Linked DNA regions of Homo sapiens: all the other regions are linked to region 2. Evidence: promoter capture Hi-C in 16 types of primary human blood cells and fetal thymus (Javierre and others, 2016). All regions are on one chromosome and are shown on one strand. The core of a region is centred on a gene start or on the middle of the fragment in contact, and the rest is flanking DNA. Distances in the headings are between cores, read along the strand shown. Region 1 overlaps AAK1 (AP2 associated kinase 1). Region 2 holds the start of SNRNP27 (small nuclear ribonucleoprotein U4/U6.U5 subunit 27). Region 3 has its middle 24 kb from the start of FAM136A. Region 4 overlaps PCYOX1 (prenylcysteine oxidase 1). Region 5 holds the start of GFPT1 (glutamine--fructose-6-phosphate transaminase 1). Region 6 overlaps TIA1 (TIA1 cytotoxic granule associated RNA binding protein). Region 7 has its middle 4.0 kb from the start of C2orf42.

Region 1 (2,953 bases), core at 116-2,615, 360 kb after region 2:
ATCACTCTGAGCCTCATTTTCTCCATCTGTGAGAGAAGGATAATAATCATATTGGGATTATGAGGATGTAGTGGGATAATCCATGTAAAATGCTGAGTACAGTAGTACTGGCAATAATAAAGCTCAGAAAATGATGGCTGTTATTTTTATAACCTCTAAATTAGATTGAAAACATTAGCGTTGTTTTGTTGGAATTATTTTAAATTCCTAAAGTGTGTATATGCTCAGGAAGCTTGACTGTGTCACTTTGTGTAAATAGATTAAACTGGTGAGCTTTATAAAAAAGACATAGATGATGGAAATATTTGCGTGCCTCAGCCTTATCTCAAAGGAATGAATCTCTCCTAATCTTTCATAACCCTATGCTTAAGAATTGTTCATCATAGAACATACCTGTGCAGGTTGATGGCTGTAGTTCAAACTACCTATGTGGCTGGAAATTCCAAGGTCAAAATTATAGATTAAAGTGATTCCAGGGTAGTAGTGCCCCCAGCTACACCAGTATATCCTCTCTGGAAGAACAATAGACTTTAAACCCAGATCTTACAAGCTTTTTACAGATTAAGTTCCAAGGAATGTAAGTTAACAAAAACAAAAAGCTCCTCACAACACCACCATAAGCAAGGTTTAGTAGGAGTAAGAAACAATAAACTGCAGAATCAGTTGGCAGCAGAGACTTCAAATATTGGAATTGGCAGATACAGACTATAAAATATACTTAATGTAATTCTTAGAAGAATTAAAAGAAAGTATAGAAACAAGTATAGAAATTAGAGACTATTATAATTGACCAGTTGTTTTTAAAAGAATCAGTAGTAGTACAGTAGTACGGCCTGGATATTTGGTGGCTCCTATCTTGCGCCTGACACACCAGGTTTGCACACACATACACACACCTACACAGTGTTTTTTGGTTTATTCCATTCAACATACATTTTTTATACCAAGCATTGTGTTAGGCACTAGGTAGAGAAGACCAAGAATATGATTATAAGAAGATGCTTATCTTTAAGGAGCTTATCTTTCAGAGTAGACTATTTTATAGTCTACTCTTGCCTTTGTTTTCCAAAGGTGATCAGTCTTTGGAAGGCTGAAGGCAAAAGACAATGGAGACTACAGTCTTAATGGCCTAACAAGATTTTTTGGCTGCCATTTTACTGCCCACACATAGCCAGGTCTGTCCTCCGGCATACTAGTCAGCTCAGTTCACCTAGACCCAAAATCAGTACACCTTGAGTACATAGTGCCCACTATTTTGGAGTTGTCATTTCATTTGTAGAGTCCTTTGATACCAGGGATTTCTCTAGATTTGGGGCTTTATAAGCTCCCTGCTGCCTAGAACTCCTAACTCACTGCCCAAAGAATTCATTTATTTAAAAAATTAGGGCAATACATTAACAGGAAAACTGCCCATTTATCCCCAGACATTTTATCACATTGAGAAGTAACTGAAACATAAGCAATATTAATTCTGAATATCCTAACCTAGTGTAGTAAAGACATTTATATAGGTACTTATAAGGTCCAAGTGAAGTAATTCACATCATGAGAGAATGAAATACTGAAGGACAATAGGGAAAGAGTGACATTTTATCTGAGTGGGAGCCTGAAAGTTTCAAAAAGGACATGGCATTTGAACTGGGGTTTGAAATGAGATTTTGATAGTTGGCTAAGGAGGTGGGGTTGTGGAGGGCATCCTGGCCTAAAAGAAGAGCAAGAGCAAAGGCACAGGTCAGAGGCTTGAAAGTATGAGGATGGTTTCTGCAGAGGTGAGAAATGTGGCTGAAATTTACAAAAATGGCACTCTTGCATCCCCCACCGTGGAGTTTCCTCTTTTTTCCCTCTCCACCCACTTTTCCCTCTTACTCTGCATCTCCTGTGTTCCACTTGGGATGACCCCTGTTGAGATACTTGGAGAGGAATAACTTCCCTGTGCACATTAATGAGACTGCCAGAAATAAAACGTTTATTTATGTGACTGTGAAACCAAATTTTCACGTGCATTACTAAATGATATCTTGGAATGGGTGGTTGGGGAATGTTTTTCAGGTTGAAAACATCCTCTTGCATGACCGAGGCCACTATGTCCTGTGTGACTTTGGAAGCGCCACCAACAAATTCCAGAATCCACAAACTGAGGGAGTCAATGCAGTAGAAGATGAGATTAAGAAGTAAGCTTTTTCTCCTTTCATGGAGTTTTGTCCACAATCAGATGAGCAACTTTACCTTCAGCTTATGGATGAGAAGGTCAGGGTGGGGAGAGAATGGTGATAGTCAGTTGTCCTTCATCTCAGAGCATCATGTTTACAGTTGGGTTGTTTGACTTTAAGTGAAGAATGAGGAGGGGGTTTACAGGCATACATCAGAGTAAAAGGAAGGACTCTTAGAGCACTTTATCAGTGGTCCTGTGGTCATTGTACATAGATGTTTTGATTTATGATGTCACAGAGCCTATAAAAAGCTGAGAGGTGCACACACCGTAAAAGTACTAGCATGTTTTTAAGTATGATCACAACAACCATGACATTATCAGTCAAACAGATGTGCTTTTTACTGAACCCTAAATTGCTCCTTTCTTCCTGCTCATAAGGCGATCTAAGTGGAAATAATGGTGAGTAGGTTATTAAAGTCTCTGCAGATACTGAATCACAGACTTTCATGATAAAAAGCTTCTTTAGATTTGTGACTCCAATAAGAGCCTGACCCATTTTCTCCTCATGTCCACAATGTTGGATTTTTTACAGGCAACAGCACTCGCTATTACTACTAATAAGTCAACAGTCTAGCCTGCACACCTACATCCTGATCTTCTCTGTCCTTTCATGCGTCACCCCAGACAACCATGCCCGGGGCAAGAAGAACCTGATCGACCCAAGGCCCTGAGGGATGCCTAGACGTGTCCCATCTGGGATCTAGAGACTAAAGCATCATAAATCACATGCTTGGTAACACC
Region 2 (2,933 bases), core at 367-2,866:
GACTCCGTCTCAAAAAAGAGGAAAAGAAAGGAAAAGGAAAAGAAAAGGAAAGGAAAGGAACGGAAGAAAGAAACAAAAATATAAAATACTTATTTCTTTTTCTTGCCAAGCACCATGCTCTGGGGTTTGCATGCATTATTTCTTACTTACTCTTTCAAGACAACTTTGTGATGTAGAGTACTATTAGCACCATTTAACCAAGGTGAATGTTAGCTTTAGAATAAGGTTGGATTAAGTTTCCTCCATTTCAGGAAACCGTAAATCCCCTTATAAGCGATGAAAACAAAGTTAAGAGCTGCGACCAGTTTCTTAGGGACTTTCGGTAAATAAAACTCTTGGCTTATTTTCTGCCCTTACCGGGAGCGTCTTCGGTGCGGGGATCGCGAGCGGCTCCTTCTCCGATCTCTCTCCCGAGACCTGGACCTTTCTCGGCGCCTGCGTTCTCTCTCCCGGGATGTGGACCGGGAACGCCTACGTTCTAATGCAAACGCACACAAATTGCAGAACTGATAATTACCTCAAATATCTAGAGCTGCGCCGTCCAGTAGAAAAATAATGCAAACCATTACTAGTCACATTAAAAAGGTAAAAAGAGGCTGGGAGCGGTGGCTCACGCCTGTAATCCCAGCACTTTGTGAGGCTGGCGGGCGGATCACAAGGTCAGGAGTTCGAGACCAGCCTGGCCAACGCGGCGAAACCCCGTCTCTAATAAAAATACAAAAATTAGCCAGGCGTGGTGGCACGGACGGGTAATCCCAGCTACTCGGAAGGCTGAGGCATGAGAATCGCTTGAACCCAGGAGGTGGAGGTTGCAGTGAGCTGAGATCGGCCACTGCACTCCAGCCTGGGCGGGCGACAGAGCGAGACTCTGTCTCATTAAAAATAAATAAATTGATTTAAAAAAAAAACGAATCAGGGGCAGAACCGAGGGTCTAAGTTAGATCTCCTAATGGAAGTCCAGGGTTCTTTACGTCGCGCTGCCTCATTTATGGGGCTGGTAGCCAGAAAACATTACGAAGTGAGCTCCCAGGACTCAAAATTCTTAATATCGATTTCCCTGTAATGACCTGGGCAGGAATCTAACATTTATTAAGTATTTAAGAACCAGGCAGAATCACATACTGTATGTTATGGGATGTGACATTAATTCTCACATCAGTTTTTAAAAGTTGGCAATACTACCCTCAATGACTCATTCTGGGAATTCGATTCAGAAAGGCTGAGTAGTGACTTGCCCACCGTCGCCCAGAAATTCAGCAAAGGAACTGAGGTCTAATTCTAAACCCACCGGCCACAGTGTAATAAAAGTTATTGTATGAAGGTGACAAAGACTTAATGAAACTAATTCAGAGACAAACAACTGCCTTCAAACCGGAGAGGGCGGGCTGAAGAGGGCAGGGCCCAGGTCTACGTTCCTTTATCCACCCCTCGCTCTCCGCCTGGGAAAAGGGCCCGCCTCTCTGCTACGCGGCTACCAAAAACAAAACAAAATAAAACAAAAGGGACAGGCCTCCAACAGAGCCCCATATCCTCCGAATTGCTACAGGACTCACCCCTCCGTGGAGAGCGGCTGCGACTGCGACCCATTTGGAGTCCCGCTTCCCGGAAACAACTGTGCAACAACTTCCGGGAGGGCCGGGAACCGAGCTTTTACCGCCGACCAGAAAACGTCAAAACGAGTTGCGAGGGTTCCGGTCTTCTTTGTTCACGGTGGGCATTAAAACATGCGATTTGGTGTTATTATAGAAATTCCTGGAAAATTCAGCCGTATACCCATTATCCTAACACAGCTTTCATTTTTCCCCCATTTTTGTCCACATGCACAAAATAGAGCAAACCAATTGTAAACATAGCATAGACAAACAGCTTATGTTCTTCCACTTTTCCACATAACATTCATAAGGAGTGAATATACCAAAGTTCACTGTCCATCTGCTTTATATTTTCTCATGCCAGCATTGAGAAGGCACCCAAAACCTCCTATGGGCTCTTGGAAGGAAAACTAAAGGCCCCAGATTCCATCCTACCCGACAAAGTACTTCCCCAAAGTTGCCTCTGTCCTCAGGGAAAACAACAACAACAACAACAAAAACTTTAGAATGTTCAAAACTACAAAAATTAGGAGAAAGACTGTCTTGCCCCAAGGCTGAACCGTCTGTGGTAGAGCATAAATATGCTTACCAGGAAAGACTCAAACCTCTATTTCTTATTTTATTTTATTTTGTTCCAGGGTACATTTGCAGGATGTGCAGTTTTGTTACATAGGTAAATGTGTGCCATGGTGGTTCGCTACACCTATCAACCCATTAAGCCTTGCATCTATTAAGCTATTCTTCCCAATGCTCTCCCTCTCCCCAGCTCCTCCCCCTACAGGCCCCAGTGTGTGTTGTTCCTCTCCCTGTGCCCATGTGTTCTCATTGTTCAGCTCCTACTTATAAGTGAGAACATGCAATGTTTGGTTTTCTGTTTCTGTGTTAGTTTGCTGAAGATAATGGCTTCTAGTTCCATCCATGTCCCTGCAAAGGACATTATCTCGTTCCTTTTTATGGCTGTGTAGTATTCCATGGTGTATACGTACCACATTTTTTTAATCCAGTCTATCATTGATGGGCATTTGGGTTGATTCTATGTCTTCGCTATTGTGAATAGTACTGCAGTGAACATATGCGTGCAAGTATCTTCGTAATAAAATTATTTATATTCCTTTGGGTATATACCCAGTAATGGGATTGCTGGGTCAAATGGTATTTCTGGTTTTAGGTCTTTGAGGAAACACCACATTGTCTTCCACAATGGTTGAGCTAATTTACATTCCCACCAACAGTGTAAAAGTGTTGAACCTCTGTTTCTAATCAAACCAACTCTTTTCAGTCAGCTCTCTCTAGAATTATCAAGTCTAGTGACCTGGCTTTTAAAATACAAAGAGCTGGGGG
Region 3 (3,257 bases), core at 166-2,665, 430 kb before region 2:
TTGTTTCTTATTTTAAAAATAAATCATGATGCATAAACTATTTTGTTACTTGAGTTTTTTCACTCAATCAAATGTAACATACTTCTTTCTTACCAAAAAAAATTCTCCTACAGTGTGGTTCTTTGTGTCTGTGGGGTACTTCATTGCACGGTCCTTTTGTTAGTTATTTAATCTGTTTCCTGTTCTTACACGTTTAGTTGCTTCCAAACGTGGAATATTATAAATGCTGTACTATACATCCTAGTTCACATATCTTTCCAAACATGTCTGCTTATCTCCCTCCTTCAAGATGAATTGTTGGGTCAAGGAGTTTTCATGTATTTGTGGCTTATGATATTCACTGCTAAATGACCTTGCTCTACAGGCTAGTCGTACCATTTACATCACCACCGTGTAAACGGTCCTTTTTCCTCTCATCCTCGCCTGCAAAAGGTTTTGCCCTGCTAGCCAACGAGTTGAACTGTGTGATAGGAAGAACCGTGATTTGTTTTCTTTTTGATTTCTTAAATGTTTAGTGAAACTGAATATGATTTCATACATGCATTAGTTTCCTCAGGCTGCTCTAACAAAGTGTGACAAGCTGCGTGGCCTAAAACAACAGATATTGATGGTCTCACCTCTGAAGATGGTAGGGAAGGATCTGCTCCCGCCTCTCTCCTGGCTGCAGGTAGCCTCAGCTGTCCCTTGGCTTGCAGGGCTGTCTTCTCTCTGTGCCTCTTCACGTGTCTTCCCTCTGTGCCTGTCTGCCTCTGTCCAAATGTCCCCACTCTATAAGGACACCCAGTCACAATGGATTAGAGACCACTCTATGACCTCAGTTTAACTAGAATATAAATTAATCCAAGTGTACAGGCCCTATTTCCAAATAAGATCACAGTCTGAAGTACTAGGGGTTGGGACTTCAACATATCTTTTTAGGAGGACAAAGCCTTCTCCAACGATATGCTTATTAGCCATTCCTATTTCTTTTTCCTTTGGTGAATTGCCCACTTCTCTTTTTTTTTTTTTTTTCTTTGAGACTGAGTCTTGCTCTGTCACCAGGCTGGAGTGCAGTGGCTCGATCTCTGTTCACTGCAACCCTGCAACCTCCACCTTCAGGTTCAAGCAATTCTCCTGCCTTGGCCTCTCAAGTAGCTGGGACTTCAGGCTCATGCCAGCACGCCCAGCTAATTTTTTTTTTTTTTTTTTTTTTTGTATTTTTAGTAGAGACGGGGTTTCACCATGTTAGCCAGGATGGTCTTGATCTCTTGACCTGGTGATCCGCCCGCCTCAGCCTCCCAAAGTGCTGGGATTACAGGTGTGAGCCACCTTGCCCGGCTAAATTGCCCACTTTTCTATTGAGTTTTTTGCCTTTTTCTTTAATTGGTAGAAACACTTTGTTATCATTCTTTTATCAGACACATATGTTACAAATGTTTTCCCAGTTTGTGAAGAACAAGGGTTTTTTAATTTTTGCATATCCATATTTTTCTGTTTTATTTCTCTCCTTTATGTCCTACTTAGAATCATCCTGCCTCAAGATTATAAGAACAGTTTTGCCTGTGTTTCCCCTAGCACTTTTTTGTTATGTTTCTAAATTTCAAATCTGGAGTTTATTTTGACATGAGACTTAGATCACTTTTTCCCCAAATGGCCAGCCAGTTGTTCTAATATGTTGATTGAGTGACTCCTCTTTTTCCTTGGTGATTTGAAGCCATCTTTATCTTTTATTAAATCCCTATATATATATTTGAATCTATTGTGAGCTCGTTATTCATTTGTAAATATTTTTCTCTATGTCTATTGCCATACTATACTTTATAATACATTTTAATATTTAAGGTAGATATTCTTTATCATATTCAAGGAAAACTTTCCATCCTTAATTTATTAGGTAATTTCGCCAAAACACATTTGTATCAAATGCCTTCTTACCATATCTGTAGATAATGACGTCATTTTTCTCATTTATTTATTCAACAAATATGTCTTGAACACCAACTATGTACCAGGCCCTACGCTGAGTACTAAATACAACAGTGAGCAAAATAGACATGGTCCCTGCCTTCATGATGCTTATTGCAATCTAGTGGAGGACACAGATGTTAGTCAAATAATCCCATAAAAAAGGTAAAAGTACGGCCGGGCGTGGTGGCTCACGCCTGTAATCCCAGCACTTTGGGAGGCCAAGGCGGGTAGATCACCTGAGGTCAGGAGTTCAAGACCAGCCTGACAACATGGAGAAACCCCGTCTTTACTAAAAATATAAAATCAGCCGGGCGTGGTGGCTCACACCTGTAATCCCAGCAGTTTGGGCAGCCAAGGCAGGCAGATCACTAAGTCAAGAGATCGAGACCATCCTGGCCAACATGGTGAAACCCTGTCTCTACTAAAAATACAAAAATTAGCTGGGCATGGTGGTGTGCGCCTGTAGTCCCAGCTACTCAGGAGTCTGAGGCAGGAGAATTGCTTGAACCCAGGAGGCAGAGGTTACAGTGAGCCGAGATCATAACACTGCAATCCAGCCTGGCGACAGAGCAAGACTCCATCTAAAATATATATATATATATATATATATATATATATATAAATCAGCTGGGCATGGTGGTGCATGCCTGTAATCCCAGCTACTCGAGAGGCTGAGGCAGAAGAATCGCTTGAACCCAGGAGGCAGAGGTTGCAGTGAGCCGAGATCGCACCATTGCACTCCAGCCCGGGCAACAAAAGGGAAACTCCATCTCAAAAAAATAAATAAATAAAAAATAAAAGTACACCACAACTGGTGCTGGGAAGAAAAGGATTACAATACTTAATCTGTGGTCCATGCACCAGCAGCCTGGGCTCCACCTGGGAGCTTGTTAGAAACACAGCATCTCCAGACCTTCTGAACCAGAATCTGCACCTTACCAGGATGCTTCATAGTTTGAGTAGCCCAGGAGTAGGGAGGATTTGACTGATTACAGAGGTAAGGAAAGGTTCCTGAAGGAAGCAATGAGTAAACTTAGATCTGAAAGGAGAGAAGGCACTAAGTCAAAAAGGGAGGGAAGAGTTGCAGGTGGAGGAAAGAGCGTATGCAAAGCCTTTGTGGTCCTGGAAGCCTGGTGCACATGAAGAAATAAAAAGGCCAGTACACATGTTTAACACAGAGTGCCAGGCAGAGCATGGGGGAGGTAAGCTCAGAGAGAGAGGAGGGCCCAACATACAGGGCTTTGTGTACTAAGGCATTTTGCCTTTATATAGGAAATTATGTTGTGTTTTCAACATGGACATCACTGAAT
Region 4 (2,856 bases), core at 116-2,615, 380 kb before region 2:
TTTAATTTTTTTTTTTTCCTTTTGAGACACAGTCTCACTCTTGCCCAGGCTGGAGTGCAGTGGTGCGATCTCTGCTCACTGCAACCTCCATCTCCAGGGTTCAAGCGATTCTCGCGCCTCAGCCTCCCAAGTAGCTGGGATTACTGGCACACGCCACCATGCCTGGCTAATTTTTGTATTTTTAGTAAAGACAGGGTTTCACCATGTTGGCCAGGCTGGTCTCAAACTCCCGACCTCAAGAGATCCACCTGCCTCAGCCTCCCAAAGTGCTGGTGAGCCACCATACCCAGCCTAAACTGGTTTTTGTTTTTTTTTTCTGAGACAGAGTCTCGCTCTGTTGCCAGGCTGGAGTGCAGTGGTGCGATCTTGGCTCACTGCAACCTCCGCCTCCCGGTTGAGGCAATTCTCCTGCCTCAGCCTCCCAAGTAGCTGAGATTACAGTAGCTGGGATTACAGACATGCGCCACCATGTCCAGCCAATTTTTGTGTATTCAGTAGAGATGGGGTTTCACCATGTTGGCCAGGATGGTCTTGATCTCCTGACCTCGTGATCCGTTTGCCTTGGCCTCCCAAAGTGCTGGGATTACAGGCGTGAGCCACTGCGCCCAGCCTAAATTGGTATTATAAGTAAAAATATATCCCATTGCAAAACAAGTCTACAAATGATGGAAATTAATTAGTATTTACCAACATTTAGCATATACATAACAGTATTACTTTACAAATTGTCTTCATTAAAACCACAAAAGGAAACAAATATGAATACCTCAACATATCTGTTAAGAATAAAACTAGAAAAAAACACTCTTTTGACAAACCATGAGTTTAATCCCCTACCTATCAAATATATCTTGGCAGTTTTATCAGCATATTAACATTCACAACTGTGGTAGGGAAGAAGTCATTTTTACTCAGAACCAAAGTTTACACTATTTTGCTAAAGTAGCTAATGCCATGATCTGATGAAGGACTTTGAAGTTTCTATTCAATGGAAGGATTTTTTTTTTTTAAGATGGTCTCTGTTGCCCAGGCTGGAGTACAGTGGCATGATCATGATTCACTGCAGCCTTGACCTCCAAGGCTCAAGTGATCCTCCCACCTCAGCCTCCCGAGCAGCTGGGACCACAGGCGCGCATTACCATGCCTGGCCAACTTTTTAAAAATTTTTTGTAGAGATGGGGTTTCACCATGTTGCCCAGGCTGGTCTAGGCCTTTGTAATTTTTTAATAACACTACATGTTAAATTGGTTGCATTTACTTTTGAACTCTTAATCTTTTGCTTGTTCTGTTCTACCAGTGTCTTGACAGTTAATCATGATCTTTGCACAGTAGATGCAGAACTAGTTCTGAAGTTTTGCTGCCTGTTAATTACCATTTGGATGCTTTAAAACCCTACAGGTGATTCCAATGTGCAGCCAAGGTTGAGACCACTGTCTTAAGATTTCAGCAACCAATTTCTCACCCAGAATGCTACAGTAAATGAAACACTTAACTCTTTGGACATATGCTGGACTTGGTTAACTTTGGTGTCATTCCAAGTATTCTGTTCTAGTGCCAACTGCTCAGGAGTTATTTAAGTTGCCTCTGCTGTTAGGCTGTCTGTGCTTATTATCAAGATTACTTCTAAAGTTCTTACTAAGAGAACTGAGAAAGTTCTAAAAGAAAGATCCTTGCAAAATGGATCTGCTTTGATACAGATTGGGCTTCTTAGGACTTCTAAGGCACTAAAACCCTTTGTAGGCATTTTCACACCCACATTGGTGATTCCCAACCCTGGGTGCACATTAGAAACTTTAAATAGCTACAATGCTAAGGTCCTATCCTCAGTCTTTGAATCTGAATCTCTGGTTATGGGGGGGTCTCAGTATTTTTAAAAGCTCCTGAAGTGAGGATTTAATACTAGAATGCCAGTTTCTTAATTCAGTAGCCCATATTTGCTTTTCATTTTACTTGAGATTTTTGTTTAACATCTTCAAGTTACATTACTAAGACTTCTAAATTTCACCCCTAATCAAATCAAGACAGAAGAATCAAAAGACAACATTCTGAAAGTCAAGGCTTTAGGCATGGGCACACGTACTTCAAACCGGTATGAAATTACTAAGAGTCAGGCATAAGACACCAGCTCCCATAAATTTTATCTGACTGAAGATTATATCTAGCTGTAAAATTCAAAAGGACTACTCCCCAACTAAGATGTCTTTAAGTTCTCCCTCAGGTACTCACCTTAAAATGCTCTACAATTTTGATCAAAATCCAGCGCGCCACTCCCAGACCTACTGAATCAGAATCTTCAAGAGAGGAGCTTGAGAATCCATATGGTTTAACAAACTCCAGGTGATTATTTTTATTTACTTTTGAGACGGAGTTTTGCTCGTGTTGCTCAGGCTGAAGTGCAATGGTGAGATTGGCTCACTGCAACCACCACCTCCTAACTCCAGGTGATTCTTATTATCAGACAAGTTTAAGAAAAACTCCTAATGGATAGTGAAAGAATACTTAAGAAATTTTGGAGATGGCATAAGTGCAATAGCTATACCTTCACACTTAATTAGAACCGTGTGTTTTCCTATGACCAGCAGGGATTACTTTTATTAAACAATGATAATGGCAAAATATCTGGTTCAAAATCATCTCTGCTCAGATTTTGTTCTTTTTTGCCACTGATAGTCATTTGGAACTAGGAGGGGAAAAAGGAGTGTGTCACTTCATAGTTCAGTTTTAAGTTTCTCATATAAGCCATCCTGATCAATCATGTCTGTGTGCCCGTTCCAGCGGTGATAGGCAAGGAGTGCAGCGTTGTGGGCTGCAATGGCACTCATCTCCATGGCACTTGCTGCACACTCTATGCCATTG
Region 5 (2,972 bases), core at 91-2,590, 510 kb after region 2:
TGTTGGGTATGTAAAATCTAGTTCTAGCTTCAAGAAACTTACAGCCCAGTGGGAAAATACAGAAAATCATAAAATATCAAAGAATATTTCTTTACAGTGAGTAGCTCAAAGAGTAAGAGGTTAATGCATGTCTCCAAGTCTGTCTAGGGGGGATAAAAAAGGCTTTCCTGAAGAGGTAGCATCTAAACAGAGACGTGGTGGGGATTCTATGCAGAGTAACCAAAGTGTGCAAAAGATTTGAGAATCTTGGCCCAGTTGAGGAACTACCTGTTGAGCCTGTTGGGAGTGTATAGGGCTGGAAGGACGGCTAAGACCAGACACATGAACAGCAGTCAGCAGGCTAAGACCAGACACATGAACAGCAGTCAGCACTCCAGGAATTCTGTGTGCCATGTACGTTTTTGATACTACTCTACTCTAGAGCCATTATAGAGTTCTGATTACTCCACATTTGACTAAAGATACCATTTAAGGCTGTTTAAAGCAAATGCCCAGGTAATAAATTCTCAGAAACATCATCCCTCTCTAATCAAGTCTCTCTTGTCAGACATGGCGCATTAATTCATAGAATGAATCGTTCGTAAGTCAAACGCGCGGCTGTTAAAGCTAGGGAATTCCTAGCCGTCTCAGGTGGGTCATGGGAGGAGGTGGGCCAGCAGTTTCTTACGTCCAGGCTCATAGTCGGATAGTTGAGCCTTACATTCCTCCTCTACCCCTCCACAATAAACTGAGGGTTATGGAGGCAACGGATGCGGAGGGCTTTTAGGGGCCAAGCATATTACACAAGGAATTGAATTGCTTATTACCAGAGAGGCTGACCTTTGGGGCTTTACAGTCAAGAATTTTGTTATCTCTCTCCTCCCACCTCAACCTAATTCTTTGCAATTTTTTTCAGCCTTATGTTCCCCAGGATTCCCTTTTCATACTTCCTGCTTTTTTCCTCCTCTTTCCTCGCTTCGTGCAGTGCTGGCGCCTGGGGCCTGGGGCTGCACGGGGCACGCACCCGGGCTATTGCTTTGCTAACAATTCCATCCTTCTCTTTCCGTCATTCCCTGCCAGGTGCTGAGTTTCTCCCTCCCTCTCGGCTCGGTCCCTCCCGCGGCTCGCCCCGGGGCGGGCGTCTCCAGGAACTCCAGGCGGACGCGGCCACGAGCCACTGCCACGTCGCCGCCGCCAGCAGTCCAGCGCCTGCGTGGGCTCGGGGGGCGGGGCAGCGCTGGGAGGCGGGACTTGCGCGTGAGCGGCGCGTGAGCGGTTCAATGGAGCCTACGGGCGGCGGCGCGCTGCGCGCCGAGGGGCGGGGCCCGGCGGCGGTTGCTGGCGGAGCCCGGGAGGCGGAGAAGGCTGTCGTTGCCTTGGCCGTCGCATCCCCGAGGGAGTCGTGTCGGCGCCACCCCGGCCCCCGAGCCCGCAGATTGCCCACCGAAGCTCGTGTGTGCACCCCCGATCCCGCCAGCCACTCGCCCCTGGCCTCGCGGGCCGTGTCTCCGGCATCATGTGTGGTAAGGGGGCCGGGAGCGGGGGGCGTGTTGCCGGGTGGCGCTGGGGTGCGGTGCGGGTGCCGCTAAGGCCCAAGGCGACGGGCGGAAGCGGGAGTGTGGAGGGTGCGAAGTCTGGGTGATGGGCAAGGGGCGCCCAGTGGTGGCTGCGGGGGCGGGGGCCGGCATCCACGGGCGGGAGAGGGGGTGGCGGCCGGGAGAAAGGCACCTGAGAGGAAGGCGGGCCCCCTTTGCCGGGGGCTAGCGGGCGCCTTGGCGCGGAGAAGGAACCGAAAGGGGAGAGAAACGCCTTTATTGAAAAAGGAGGAGAGAGCTGAGGGAATTGAGGTGTGGAGGGGGTTGCCTTCAAAAGGGCCCACCAGGTGAGTGAGGAAACCTGTGGAACCTCGGGCGAGGTCTCTTGAACTTACCTTGCATTTTTCTAAAAATCTTTAAAAAAATATTTTACTTGTTTCTGGGGAGGCCCAATAGAAAACAGACCCTAGCTAGAGCCACGGTAGTGCCATTAAACGTGATACTTCCTGCCATCCCTTGTCTCAACAGAAACCATTGCTAATCAATAACTTGGTTCATGGGCTTAGACCTGATCCTCTGGTGGAAGAGGCCTTCAAATGTCTGTGGCGATAGGTTATACATAATTTATCATTTGCGTGTGCACCCATTAAAAATGCCAGCTCTGAAAAATATCAGTTATACCTTGGATGTATACCCCTTTAGAATACCAACTATGAAAAATATCATTTATCCCTTGCATGTGCATCCATTAAAAATACTAGCTATGGAAAGTTGAGCAAATATCTTTCCTAGAGCCTTAAAAAATTAAGGTTAGGCCCTTTTATTCCATGTTTTGAGAGTCGTTTATTATGACCTAAGTGTTAGTGAAAGAGACTTTGAGAATCGTGTCTGACATGACTGATATCTTCTAAAATTGGTGTTAATTTGGCTATTGCCAGTAAAAATAATTGTATTCTTACCTTTCTTATTGAAATTTACAACCGACTTTATCCCTGGAAGAAAGTACACTTTTTTTTTTTTTTTTTAAAGGGAAGTACCATTGTAAGAGAATTGAAAACTCTCTGGGAGACTTCTTATTTGCAGCCTTTTACACGAAGGAACTGAACAGGAGGTGGATTGTACTCGTTAGTGTATATATTTCCTGTATTTAACTTTATGCTCATTTCAGCTTCTGAAAATGAGGAGCAGGTTTAAATTTAGAGTAGATTAAAAAAAAACCCACATAAAAACAGAAACACCTATAAATAGCTTACTGAAATTATTAGAGTAGAGCTGACTTCAGAATCAGACTTTTGCAGTGTCTACTTAGTAGAATGGTTTTGCATTTAGTTTGGAGCTGTGAAGTAGTGAATTTGCAAACTGGTCAATCTCCAGTGTGCTTCATTTGGTAGTTAACTGTTCCTGAATGATGAGGGGTGTGCCTCATCAAGTACTCAACATTCTGGTTGCAGGTCATTT
Region 6 (3,096 bases), core at 522-3,021, 320 kb before region 2:
GTGGTGTCCCCTCCAGCCCCCATTATTTTGGCCTTGAGTTTAAGTTACATTCACTGCTACTGCAATGCTCCTGGCCACCAACACTTTTTAAAAATCTAGAATATTGCACAAGTTTCATAAAGTATCTTTATCCCCTTACTACCCATTATCCTAAGCCATTCTCCTCTTAGCGCTAAGAATGGCCTTCTTGCCGGGTGCGGTGGCTCACGCCTGTAATCCCAGCACTTTGGGAAGCCAAGGCAGGCGGATCACGAGGTCAGGAGATGGAGACCATCCTGTCTAACACGGTGAAACCCTGTCTCTACTAAAAAAGAAACCCTGTCTCTACTAAAAAATACAAAAAAAAATTAGCCGGGCTTGGTGGCTGGCACCTGTACAGGAGAATGGCAGGAACCCAGGAGGCGGAGCTTGCAGTGAGCCAAGAACGCGCCACTGCACTCCAGCCTGGGAGACAGAGCAAGACTCCATCTCGAAAAAAAGAATGGCCTTCTTAAAACATAGGTCATGATGATTCCTTGCTTAAAATCTTTCAGTTTCATTCTCTGACATTCTTTTTTGCTCGCTGGATTCCACTGAAACTAGTCTTTCACATGCTGCTTTCAGATGCATACCAAACTTTTGTGCCTTAACACACTTTGCAATACTTTTCTCTCTACTGGGGCTTTCTTCCTCATTGTTTTGACTTGGCTATCTCCTATTGCTGTCAGGCTTAGTTTAAATGTCATTTCAGAGAGACCTTTCTTATTCATCCTGTCTGTAGTAGATCCTTGTGCCCATATTCTCTATCTCAGCCTTTTGTTTCTGTCATAGGTCTTACCACAATATGTAATTGCTTTATTTGTTCCCCACAAAAGAATGTAAGAGACCATGTATGCTTGTTTACCAGTGTGTCCCTAGCTCTTAACCGCATGCCTGGAACATAACTGTTCAATATTTATTTGTTGGATGAATGAGAAACCAAATATTGTTAACAAGCTTGTTAGATTGTTTAAGATTTTCTTCTATAGTAGTCTGAGTTGCATGAACTTTATGATATCTACCTCATTAGGGCTGTCGGGCTCACGACCTTTTCAGATGATTAATGTTCCCAAAATTTAATATTCAAATAAGAGAAAAACAATACAAAAGCACCATTGGGTTGAGCATGGTGGCTCATGCCTGTAATCCTAGCACTTTGGGAAGCTGAGGTGGACAGATCACTTGAGGTCAGAAGTTTGAGACCAGGGCCGGGCACAGTGGCTCACGCCTGTAATCCCAGCACTTTGAGAGGCCGAGTTGGGAGGATCACGAGGTCAGGAGATCGAGACCATCCTGGCTAACATGGCGAAACCGTGTCTCTACTAAAAATACAAAAAATGAGCCAGGCGTGGTGGCAGGTGCCCGTAGTCCCAGCTACTTGGGAGGCTGAGGCAGGAGAATGGCGTGAACCTGGGAGGCAGAGCTTGCAGTGAGCCGAGATCACGCCATTACACTCCAGCCTGGGCCACAGAGCGAGACTTAAAAAAGAAAAAAAAAAGAAGAAGAAGTTCGAGACCAGCCTGGCCAATATGGCGAAACCCCATCTCTACTACAAATACAAAAATTAGCCAGGCATGGTGGCAGATGCCTGTAATCCCCGCTACTCAGGAGGCTGAGGCAGGAGAATCGCTTGAACCCAGTTGGCGGAGGTTGCAGTGACCCAAGATCACACCACTGCACTCCATCCTGGGTGACAGAGCGAGACTCTATCTGAAAAAATAAATAAAATAAAATTTAAAAATATAAAAAGCACCATTGCATTTTAGGAAAGCTATCATATGTTGTGTATTTCATAGAGCATTTTCACTTAAACATTTGTGAAAAGCACCAAGTTTTCTCTACTGCTAAGAGTTGTTTAACATCAACTAATAGTGACTTCTTTATTGTTTCTAATGTTGTACGGAACAGGATGCTGAAAACGCCATTCAACAGATGGGTGGCCAGTGGCTTGGTGGAAGACAAATCAGAACTAACTGGGCAACCCGAAAGCCTCCCGCTCCAAAGAGTACATATGAGTGTAGGTGTATTGGAGAAGAAAAGGAAATGTGGAATTTTGGAGAAAAATACGCTAGATTTTAAATGTTAGAGCTGTTCCCGGAGACTTATTGCAGAAATAGATGAGAAGCAAATCAAGACTACTATTCAAAAATGTACTTAGTTTTCATTTTTGTAATTATAAATAATATTATTTCTAATGTCAAGTCTCCTATTAAATAGAAAATACTGGGTAATTTTTTAGACATTCGTGGGGGAGGTTTAATTCTGAACTGAAGTATAATATGTGTAATATAAGCATTTTGATCAAGGTTAATGTTACCTTTACAGTAGTGTAGTGAATGCTACTTTTCTCTTTCTGCACATTTTATTTAATGAATTAAAGACATAAACCTTTTCTCTCACCAGCAAATACCAAACAGCTATCATATGATGAGGTTGTAAATCAGTCTAGTCCAAGCAACTGTACTGTATACTGTGGAGGTGTTACTTCTGGGCTAACAGGTATGGGAGCCTTCCCTGTGTGGCATTAATTTTTAAAGTGCAAAGCTTAATATTTGTAGGATTTTTATATAACTTAGTGTGATTTGTTTGTTTTGGTTTTTTGTCTAACAGAACAACTAATGCGTCAGACTTTTTCACCATTTGGACAAATAATGGAAATTCGAGTCTTTCCAGATAAAGGATATTCATTTGTTCGGTAGGGATGGTTTTTTAAAAAAACATTTTTCTTGGTAATGTAACTGGAAAACCAGAAAATAAATAAAAATAAAAAACTTTTTCCTCCAAAATATTTTTTGAACATTTACCTCGTTTTCTTAAAAATTTACCTTGGTTATAAAAAAGTTGAAATTTTGGCCGGGTGCGGTGGCTCACGCCTGTATTCCCAGCACTTTGGGAGGCCGAGACGGGTGGATCACCGTCATGAGTTTGAGACCAGCCTGGCCAACATTGTGAAACCCCGTCTCTACTAAAAATACAAAAATATAAAAATTAGCCGGCATGGCGGTGCATGCCTGTAATCACAGCTACTCGGGAGGCTGAGGCAGGAGAATCACTTGAACCCAGGAGGTGGAGGTTGCA
Region 7 (3,163 bases), core at 415-2,914, 300 kb before region 2:
ACCCAGGAGGCGGAGGTTGCAGTGAGCCGAGATCGCACCACTGCACTCCAGCCTGGTGACAGAGCAAGACTCTGTCTCAAAAAAATAATAATAAAATAAAACAAAATAATCAGGTGTGAGTTCACAATAAAAAACTATCAAACACGGCCAAGCGCGGTGGCTCACGCCAGTAATCCCAGCACTCTGAGAGGTGGGCAGGTCACTTGAGGTCAGGAGATCGAGACCAGCCTGGCCAACATGGTGAAACTCCATCTCTACTAAAAATACAAAAATTAGCCAGATGTAGTGGTGCATGCCTGTAATCCCAGCTACTCGGGAGGCTGAGGCAGGAGAATCACTTGAACCTAGGAGGCAGCGGTTGCAGTGAGACGAGATTGCACCACTGCACTCCAGCCTGGGTGAGAGTAAAACTCCGTCTCAAAAAACAAACAAACAAAAAACCTATGAAACACATGAGGAAACAAGACTCTACAAGAGATCCAACAGAAACAAAGAACAGCAGAACTGGACCTACAAGAACTTTAGAAAATCACATATTGAATTTGTAATAACTACATTTCATGTCTTTAAAAATAAAAGATGTAATACAAATATGAACAAGGAAGAAATGACTGTCAAATGATTAGGCAGATTTTTGAAAAACTAATAGAACCTCTAGAAATTAAAAATACAATAGCTTAAATTAAAAATTCAATAGGCTGACTAAACAAATTAGATACAGCTGAAGAAGAGAATCTGTAATTCGGAACAGTACAAGAAGAGGGTACAAAATATGAAGGGTACAGCCAGACACAGTGGCTCACGCCTGTAATCCCAGCACTTTGGGAGGCCAAGGTGGGAGGATCACAAGGTCAGGAGTTCGAGACCAGCCTGGCCAATATGGTGAAACCTGTCTCTACTAAAAATACAAAAATTGGCCGGGCGTGGTGGCAGGCAACTAGAGTCCCAGCTACTCGGGAGTCTGAGACAGGAAAATCAGTTGAACCCGGGAGGCGGAGGTTGTAGTGAGCCAAGATCGCACCACTGCACTCCAGCCTGGGTGACAGAGCAAGACTCCCTCTCAAAAAAAAAAAAAAAAAAAAAAAAAAATTAGCCAGGTGTGGTTGTGGGTGCCTATAATCCCTGCTACTTGGGAGGCTGAGGCAGGAGAACCGCTTGAACCTGGGGGGCGGAGGTTGCAGTGAGCCGAGATTGCACCACTTCACTCCAGCCTGGGCAAAAGAGCGAAACTCCATCTAAAAAAAAAAAAATAGTGATTTAAGGGGGTCAGGAAGGGATGAAGAAAGGTTGATTAATGAGTACAAGTATACAGTTTAGTAGAAGAAATAAGACATCATGTTTGATAGATCATAGGGTGACTATAGCTTACAATAATAATCTGTTGTACATTTCAAAATAGAAGAGAATAATTCAATGTTTCTAACATAAAGACAAATATTTAGGGTGATGGATATCCCAGTTACACTGATTTGATCTTTACAGATTATATGAATTTATTAAATTATTACATGTACCCCCAAAATATGTACATCTATTATGTATCAATACTTTATTTTTAAGAGAAGGGGTCTTGCTATGTTGCCCAGGCTGGCCTCAAACTCTTAAACTTCTGAGCTCAAGCAATACTCCTGCATCAGCTTCCCAAATAATTGAGATTACAGGCATGTACCAATACTCCAAAAAATTTTTTAAAAGAAAAAAATATTGGATTAAAATGACAACAGGGCACCAGGAGCGGTGTCTCACACCTGTAATCCCAGCTCTTTGGGAGGTTGATTCGGGTGAATCCCAGAGGTCAGGAGTTTGAGGACAGCCTGACCAACATGGAGAAACCCCATCTCTACTAAAAATACAAAATTAGCCGGGCGTGGTGGCGCATGCCTGTAATCCCAGCTATTCGGGAGGCTGAGGTAGGAGAATCGCTTGAACCTGGGAGGCAGAGTTTAAGGTGAGCTGAGATCGCGCCATTGCACTCCAGCCTGGGCAACAATGAGCGAAACTCCGTCTCAAAAAAAAAAAAGAAAAAGAAAAAGAAAAAGAAATGATAACAGGGGCTAGAAGGATGAGAGAAGTTAAAAAATAATTATTGTCAGTTGGCAAAAATCAAAGAACTATGAATATCTGCTCTAATGTGCAAATAGCATATAAATTCTTTTTTTTTCTTTTTTTTTTTTTTGAGACGAAGTCTCACTCTGTCACCCAGGCTGGAGTGCAGTGGTGCGATCTTGGCTCACTGCAACCTCTGCCTCCCGGGTTCAGGCGATTCTTCTGCCTCAGCCTCCCCAATAGCTGGGACTACAGGCGCCCGCCACCACGACTGGCTAATTTTTTTGTATTTTTAGTAGAGACGGGGTTTCACCGTGTTAGCCAGGATGGTCTCGATCTCCTGACCTCATGATCCACCCGCCTCGGCCTCCAAAAGTGCTGGGATTACAGGCGTGAGCCACCGTGCCCGCCCTTTTTTTTTTTTTTTTTTTTTTTGAGATGGAGTCTTACTCTGTTGTCCAGGCAGGAGTGCAGTGGTGCCATCTCAGCTCACTGCAACCTCTGCCTCCCAGGTTCAAGCGATCCTCCTGCCTCAGCTTCCCAGGTAGCTGGGATCACAGGCGCCCACCACCACACCCCACTAATTTTTGTATTTTTAGTAGAGAGGGAGTTTTGCCACGTTGACCAGGCTGGTCTCAAACTCCTGACCTAGGTGATCCGCCCACCTCGGCCTCCCAAAGTGCTGGGATTACAGGTGTGAGCCACTGTATATCTGGCCAAATTCTTTTCATTGAAAATGGCTTTAGCCGAGCATGGTGTCTCATGCCTGTAATCCCAGCAACTTTGGGAGGCTGAGGTGGGAGGATTGCCTGGGGCCAGTTCAAGACCACTGCCTGAGCAACACAGAGAGACCCACCACCACCCCCAATCTCTACAAAAAATACAAAAATTAGCTGGGCATGGTGGCGAGCTCCTGTAGTCTCAGCTACCCAGGAGGCTTAGGAGGGAGGATCAATTGAGCTTGAGAAATTGAGACTGCAGATCACGCCACTGCACTCCAGCCTGGGCAGCAGAGTAAGACCCTGTCTCAAAAATTAAAAAAAAAAAAAAAAAGGGGGGGGGCGGAGCCGGGTGCAGTGGCTCACACCTGTAATGCCAGCACTTTGGGAGGCCAGGG

The links. The method cuts DNA at HindIII sites, captures the fragments that hold promoters and counts their contacts. A CHiCAGO score of 5 or more calls a contact.
Region 1: a fragment that was not itself captured here is called in contact with the fragment with the promoter of SNRNP27 in region 2 in 2 of 17 cell types (naive CD8 T cells and total CD8 T cells); the score reaches 5.3 in naive CD8 T cells.
Region 3: a fragment that was not itself captured here is called in contact with the fragment with the promoter of SNRNP27 in region 2 in 1 of 17 cell types (neutrophils); the score reaches 5.1 in neutrophils.
Region 4: a contact is called between a fragment that was not itself captured here and the fragment with the promoter of SNRNP27 in region 2, in 1 of 17 cell types (neutrophils). The highest score is 6.1, in neutrophils.
Region 5: the fragment with the promoter of GFPT1 here is called in contact with the fragment with the promoter of SNRNP27 in region 2 in 1 of 17 cell types (total CD8 T cells); the score reaches 7.7 in total CD8 T cells.
Region 6: a contact is called between a fragment that was not itself captured here and the fragment with the promoter of SNRNP27 in region 2, in 9 of 17 cell types (total CD8 T cells, naive CD8 T cells, fetal thymus and 6 more). The highest score is 9.5, in total CD8 T cells.
Region 7: a fragment that was not itself captured here is called in contact with the fragment with the promoter of SNRNP27 in region 2 in 1 of 17 cell types (total CD8 T cells); the score reaches 5.8 in total CD8 T cells.

Annotation. Positions count from the first base shown.
Region 1 is chr2:69,531,259-69,534,211 of GRCh38, reverse strand. It overlaps AAK1 (AP2 associated kinase 1), which reads left to right. Exons shown (of 22, transcript NM_014911.5): 6 at 2,050-2,171. Among named protein-coding and RNA genes, the nearest start is that of SNORA36C, 13 kb to the right of the region's middle. The HindIII fragment of the contact is 1,626 bases long and covers 553-2,178 here.
Region 2 is chr2:69,892,639-69,895,571 of GRCh38, reverse strand. SNRNP27 (small nuclear ribonucleoprotein U4/U6.U5 subunit 27) reads right to left here and starts at 1,616. Exons shown (of 6, transcript NM_006857.3): 1 at 1,554-1,616; 2 at 358-478. The coding sequence starts at 1,587. RefSeq lists enhancers at 121-1,055, 1,254-1,313, 1,056-1,991. The HindIII fragment of the contact is 14,817 bases long and covers 1-2,933 here.
Region 3 is chr2:70,324,751-70,328,007 of GRCh38, reverse strand. No RefSeq gene overlaps it. Among named protein-coding and RNA genes, the nearest start is that of FAM136A, 24 kb to the right of the region's middle. The HindIII fragment of the contact is 7,913 bases long and covers 1-3,257 here.
Region 4 is chr2:70,277,245-70,280,100 of GRCh38, reverse strand. PCYOX1 (prenylcysteine oxidase 1) reads right to left here. Exons shown (of 6, transcript NM_016297.4): 6 at 1-2,856. The coding sequence ends at 2,709. Among named protein-coding and RNA genes, the nearest start is that of SNRPG, 15 kb to the left of the region's middle. The HindIII fragment of the contact is 6,133 bases long and covers 1-2,856 here.
Region 5 is chr2:69,385,595-69,388,566 of GRCh38, reverse strand. It overlaps GFPT1 (glutamine--fructose-6-phosphate transaminase 1), which reads left to right and starts at 1,340. Exons shown (of 20, transcript NM_001244710.2): 1 at 1,340-1,502. The coding sequence starts at 1,496. RefSeq lists silencers at 921-1,030, 1,091-1,760 and an enhancer at 989-1,548. The HindIII fragment of the contact is 6,543 bases long and covers 1-2,972 here.
Region 6 is chr2:70,215,825-70,218,920 of GRCh38, reverse strand. TIA1 (TIA1 cytotoxic granule associated RNA binding protein) reads left to right here. Exons shown (of 13, transcript NM_022173.4): 8 at 1,927-2,035; 9 at 2,422-2,517; 10 at 2,629-2,713. Among named protein-coding and RNA genes, the nearest start is that of C2orf42, 26 kb to the right of the region's middle. The HindIII fragment of the contact is 1,587 bases long and covers 978-2,564 here.
Region 7 is chr2:70,193,405-70,196,567 of GRCh38, reverse strand. No RefSeq gene overlaps it. Among named protein-coding and RNA genes, the nearest start is that of C2orf42, 4.0 kb to the right of the region's middle. The HindIII fragment of the contact is 4,295 bases long and covers 1-3,163 here.